Linked DNA regions of Homo sapiens: region 2 is linked to region 1. Evidence: promoter capture Hi-C in human tissues and cell types (Jung and others, 2019). All regions are on one chromosome and are shown on one strand. The core of a region is centred on a gene start or on the middle of the fragment in contact, and the rest is flanking DNA. Distances in the headings are between cores, read along the strand shown.

Region 1 (2,923 bases), core at 249-2,748:
GTATAAACAAAACTTTCACTAGCCCTACTTTTCTTTCCTTAAGAAAAGCTTCCCAAAAGAACTGTCCACATGCCCCATAACAAATCACAATCGCTATTACTGGTATCCCACTCTACTCCCCCTATCCACCAACACGCAGCAGCCAGAGTCAACTTTTAGAACATCAACATTTAATTATTAGCCTCTTCTTTTTTTCTTTTCTTTTCTTTTTTTTTTTTTTTTTTTTTTTGCGAGACAGAGTCTTGCTCTGTCGCCCAGGCTGGAGTGCAATGGTGCGATCTCAGCTTACTGCAATCTCCGCCTCCCAGGTTCAAGCGATTCTCCTAAGGCTCCGGAGTAGTTGGGATTACAGGCGCCCACCACCACGCCAGGCTAATTTTTTTGTATTTTTAGTAGAGACGGGGTTTCACCATGTTGGTTAGGCTGGTCTCCAACTTCTGACCTCAGGCGATCCGCCCGCCTCGGCCTCCTAAAGCGTAGCCTCTTCTTAAAACCCTTTTAAATAGCTTCCCGTGGCTCTTAGAATAAAAGTCAACGTGTGGTTAAAATAAACTAAAAACCTTGCTGTGATGTAGTCCTTCTGGGTCATTCCACACCATATGTCTTCCACTAAACTTCAGTCACACTCATATGGCCCACCTTCTAGTCGTCAAAATAGCCAAAACCTCTCCAAGCCTTACAGCCTTCACACAAACTGTTTCTTCTACAGAGGACAGAGAAAGACAATGGTTTCGAATGTGACGTCCAAACTATAAATCACAGGACACTGAATTCTGCGGGCTTTCATTAGCATAAGAGCTGCCTCCGACGGGGGCAACACTATGCGGGGTGTGCCAGGAACTGATTTAAGACTGTATTCAGATCTTCCAAGCAACGCCAAAGACTCCAGCTTATAAAGAGCATATTTGATTGCTTATACTGTGTGCTAGGTCCTTTTATCCTTCAAATGACCACCTACAGGAGAGACTAAGGTCCAATTCACAACTGAGCCTTTAAGGAGGTTAAGTAACTAGCCCAGAGTTCAACAGAAAGTGGACGGGTTGTTCAAAGCCAGAGCTACTCCCGACCTCTACTCTATACACTGCCTTTCCTCCGGCCCGTAAATACAACGAATGAACCTGCAGGTTGGTAGCTCCTGGGATCCGAGGTTGGAGTGCCACAGGACCCCAACCTGCTCTCACCCCGGGACAGGGAAATACGAACAGGGGCACAGGTCCACCACCAGGTGCCTCCGCGAGGGGCAGCAGCGCAGGCGGCGGGGAGGACCAGCGGCCACTCACCTGGTGCTGGCGCTGCGGCTACCTCCACACAGCGGTCTTGGCCTCCCAGACGCGAACCCGCACGCCCCAGGGGAGCCACCGGCGAAAAGCCCGCGGGCCCGTCCGCAGGCACCAACCAAATAACGCAGCGCTGGCACCATCCCCTACGCACGCTCCCCTCCCTCAGCGCTCAGAAGAAGCCACTTGACCCTCCACGGCCGAGGACCCGCGCTCTTTAGCCCCGCCCCTCACGCGGGGGCCAATGAAGTGGCGCGCCTTCGCCCCATGTGGGAGAGGCTGCGGTGGCCAATAGGCGCGCGCGTCGGAGGGCGAAGGGCCGGCCAGGGTGCCGCAGACGCGGGGACGCTGGCTCGCTCCCTCCCTCCCTCCCTCCGACGCTGTGAGTAGAGAAGCTAGGCCCCGAGCCGGGCGGGACTAGGGTGGTGGTTGTGTTCTGCCCTCGCCCGTCGCCAACGCTGGGCTGACTGAAAACCTGGCCCTTTGGGTCGCGCGTCTTCGACCTTCACCGCCATGCGGACATGGGGCCGTGGGAGAAACTCTGGGCGGGATTACGGTGAAAATTCTTGTTTGGGCGGGCCCTGCGGCTTCTTTCTTCCGGCTCGCCCTCGGCCCCGCCCCCGCCCCGCCCCCGCTCCAGCTCCAGCCGGGTCCTCGCTCGGCCCCGCACGCGGCCCGCGGTAGACGGAGGGCCTGGGCACCCACCGTCTCCATCCCGGCCCCAGCCCAGTCGAGCGTCCACTAGAAGGGCGCTCCCTGTCCGGCCCTAATCCTCGCTCCTCACGGAGGCTCTTTGTCACAGCGAAGACTGACAGCCCGCAGTCTTCTGGACTTCTTTTATGGGGCTCCTGGCGGTGCTATTCATTCAGTCATTGATTCGTCTTGTAAATATGGAGCGCCTGCTCTGTACTCGACCCGGCACTGGGTACCGGAAGAACCAGACAGCTCGGTTTTTGCCACCATTTATAAGTCTGTGTCCTTTTCTTGAGTACTGAACCGAGATACAGTTTTAAATGTGCTGTGCGGTCTCTGAGCAGCGACTCACCTGTGCAGGTCACTTCACCTGATTCCCTTTATGTAAAAATGAGGGCGATGGGCTGTGTAATCTCTAAAGGACCTTCTAACTCTTTAAAATTGTCACTGTGCCGGTGTTGCTAACACTCATTCTGTATGCTTGATGGCAGTTTTTAATTTTTAGGGTTAGGACAGCTGAACATAACAAATAGAATTATACAGATTTATTACCAGAAGGACTTCGTGTGCCTCTAAGAATCTTGGTTCCAGTCTTTGGTCAGGTAGCTCCAGGAAATCACTTCACCTCTTTGCCTCAGACCCTCCTCAGTGAACTAGGAATGATAGCAGTGTCTCCCTAGTCTTAGGGCCGTTGAGCGGATTACACGAGATAAGGTCAGCAGGTGTTTAGCACAGTGAAGCATTTGCTACGTGATGACATTTATTATGGTTAAAGGGTTTTACCACCAGAACAGTGGTACATAGTTTGCTTTATTTGTTAAAACAATGTAGAATATTGCCTGCTTGTTCCATCACAGATGAAAAAAAGAGATGGTTATTCAACTTTGTGAGGTAATTGTGGATTTCCATGCAATTGTAAGAATAGAGATTCTGTGTACCCTTTACCCAGTCTT
Region 2 (3,116 bases), core at 594-3,093, 280 kb after region 1:
TGAATGAATGGAAAAAACTATATACACATATCAAGTTCCATATCATAGACTTTATCATTTTATAGGAATCAGTTGATTGGGTTGGAGACTACAATGAACCATTGACTGGTTTTTCATGGAGAGGTGGATCTGAGCGAGAGACCACAGGAATTCAGATATGGAGTGAAATCTTCCTTATCAATAAACCTGATGGTAAAAAGGTATGATGCTAACTTCCTAAATAAAATTGAGTTTTCACTTATAACAGTTACTACTTTTTAGGATCCTTGAAGTTGCACTTTTGAAAATTAATTTTGACCATTTGACATGAAGCTTAAAGTGGGGTAGCATCCTATAGCATGATCTTTGTTTCCCTTTCTTGTGATCAGAGTAGGCGAAATTATAACGATGATAGAACAGCAGATCAGCAAGTAACATCTGTATTTTGTTTCACTGCTACATAAAGTTTCTGTTACGTTGGATTACTAGTAAAAATTACTTATAATAGTAATCAGCTGTTAATATTTTTATTTTCTGTGGCATTCATGGCATGTGTAAGAAATTATCTAAAATAGTATTGATTAATAATGGTTTGCTTTAGTTCTTATATTAATATTATGGTAACCCTAATGACCTAGATGTTCTATAAAATATCAATAATGTACTCTTCTTGCCTGTAGGTTGCAGTGTTATTGATGGATACTCAGGGAACCTTTGATAGTCAGTCAACTTTGAGAGATTCAGCCACAGTATTTGCCCTTAGCACAATGATCAGCTCAATACAGGTATGAAATAAGCCCATTTTGATGATGTTTCTTTAACTAAAAATTATGAGTATATGTGTTTCTACATACATGTTATAATTAGATAAACAACAGAAATTGGGAATCATATATATTGTTTGACTCAATTAGCATACGAGTTCTCGTGATTTCTGTGAGAGTGGAATTGTTTTTGTTACTGTAGTTTAATTACTGACAAACTTTCAAATTGACTGCTTTGGTTAGAAAAGGTCATATTATCTTATTGGGATTTTTGTTGTTGTTGTTTAAAGCCTACAATAAACTCAGTAACATAAATCTTATATGCGTATACATTGAGACCATCTATTGTAAGTTATGTTTAATGAAACAGTGTTTATAAATATAAATTTTGTTCTACATAGCCAGTAGAAACATTTCTAAATGTAAAAACATTTACATGTGTTCATAGCTTTTAAAAACACCTTAATGTACATTTAGGAAAGTAAATAGCTTATATATAAAATTTATCTTTCTTTCCTTTCCTTTTTTCTTTCACTTTTTTAAAAGTCTTATTTTTGAGGTTATTGTGGGCTTTCTAAATTGTCCTGAAAATCCTTGTAGAGTTTTATTAGAACCATAGAATCCATAGCATAAAAGATTTTAAGACTATTTTTAGATATTTTCAATCCACTGGCAAAAGCAAAAAGAGAGTGGCCAAGGAACAGGGCAGATCAATAAAAAAAGGTAAGATAGCTTAAAAAGGCAGAAAAGGCAAAGCAGTTAGGATGAGTGAGTCAAGACTAAAATTACAAGCAAGCATAGAGAATGGAGCTAGTGAACCAGCAACAAGGGCGTCATATATGATTAGGACAACCAAGACAGGGTAAACAGAAGGAGGAAGGAAGACTGAATTTATTAAATAAAGGACTTTAAAGTAAAAGTCATAAAAAAAAAAGTCATGGTTATAACCTACTTAATCAACTTTTAAAAATTAACTTTTCTTTCAGTTGACAAATAAAAATTATATATATTGGCCAGGCACGGTGGCTCACGCCTGTAATCCCAGCACTTTGGGAGGCCGAGGCGGGCGGATCACGAGGTCAGGAGATCGAGACCATCCTGGCTAACACGGTGAAACCCCGTCTCTACTAAAAATACAAAAAATTAGCCGGGCATGGTGGCAGGCGCCTGTAGTCCCAGCTACTCGGGAGGCTGAGGCAGGAGAATGGCGTGAACCCAGGAGGCAGAGCACTTGCAGTGAGCCGAGATTGCGCCACTGCACTCCAACCTGGGTGACAGGGCGAGACTCCCGTCTCAAAAAAAAAAAAAAAAATATATATATATATATATGTGTGTGTGTGTGTGTGTAAATTATATATATATGTGTGTACATATATCTGTATATATATAATGTACAATATGATATTTTGAATACACACATTGTATAAGCCTTTAAAATACTGACTTAATCTAATTTATTGTAATTCACAGTGTAAGCCATACTTATACAAGCCTATTTAAACCAGATTGACTTTGCCTTATCAGTATTACTCATTATTTATATTTGACCTGAATACATTGAATATTTTCAGAGAAAAATCTGCTAATTCCTTAGTAATGACTTTTTTTAATTATGTGAGAAATGATGATCTGTTATTTAAATAAGTATACAGAGCATTCTTTTTATATCAGTACATAAATATATAAGCCTCCTTAACTTTTCTTTGAAGTTAATGATATTTATTTCCCTCAAAAAATGTCATCTTAATGCTGTTATCACATATATATATAAGGATGTGAGCATGATATTCAGAACCTAACTTCCATGTGATGAAACTCTGTATAGACATAAATAAAATGATTAATTGTGAAGAAGTCAACATGATTTTTCAAAACAAAATTTTCCATATGGCTTGCTGAGATTTAGATTGTTATTATTTTGTCTTGCTTGGAAGAATGAGTTTTTTTGACTAATTGCATAAATTAGGTTCATAAAATAATTTTAATATTCCATCTCCAGAGCAGGTGACTACTGTATTTCTGGAACCATTTTATAATCATTGTTCATTCCTTATTGTCTCTCAAGCTTATTTTACTTCTCTCTCAAGGTCTTACAAATATCATGTAAGCATGTACATAAGAGAGTCCATTTTGTGGTAACTGATATTTTTAAAAGTAGGGAATGATGAAGTAAGTGCTTAGGATGATGCCAGTTATCTTATCATTGTAATTTTATTTCTTTATCAAGGTATATAACTTATCCCAAAATGTCCAGGAGGATGATCTTCAGCACCTCCAGGTAACAATATTTATTTTCTTTTTTGTGTATCTGGTAGTCTTTGAAACATGTATAGCAGAACTTTGGGGAATGATTTCAAAACATAATCAGATTCT

What was found. Contacts are between HindIII fragments. The study calls those that stand out against the background at their distance.
Region 2: a contact is called between a fragment that was not itself captured here and the fragment with the promoter of L2HGDH in region 1, in 1 of the 25 tissues and cell types used here (dorsolateral prefrontal cortex).

Annotation. Positions count from the first base shown.
Region 1 is chr14:50,310,731-50,313,653 of GRCh38, forward strand. L2HGDH (L-2-hydroxyglutarate dehydrogenase) reads right to left here and starts at 1,499. Exons shown (of 10, transcript NM_024884.3): 1 at 1,281-1,499. The coding sequence starts at 1,420. It overlaps DMAC2L (distal membrane arm assembly component 2 like), which reads left to right and starts at 1,594. Exons shown (of 6, transcript NM_001382507.1): 1 at 1,594-1,659. RefSeq lists silencers at 1,559-1,688, 1,749-1,978. The HindIII fragment of the contact is 14,916 bases long and covers 1-2,923 here.
Region 2 is chr14:50,590,876-50,593,991 of GRCh38, forward strand. It overlaps ATL1 (atlastin GTPase 1), which reads left to right. Exons shown (of 14, transcript NM_015915.5): 3 at 66-200; 4 at 660-764; 5 at 2,971-3,021. Among named protein-coding and RNA genes, the nearest start is that of ATL1, 32 kb to the left of the region's middle. The HindIII fragment of the contact is 4,726 bases long and covers 1-3,116 here.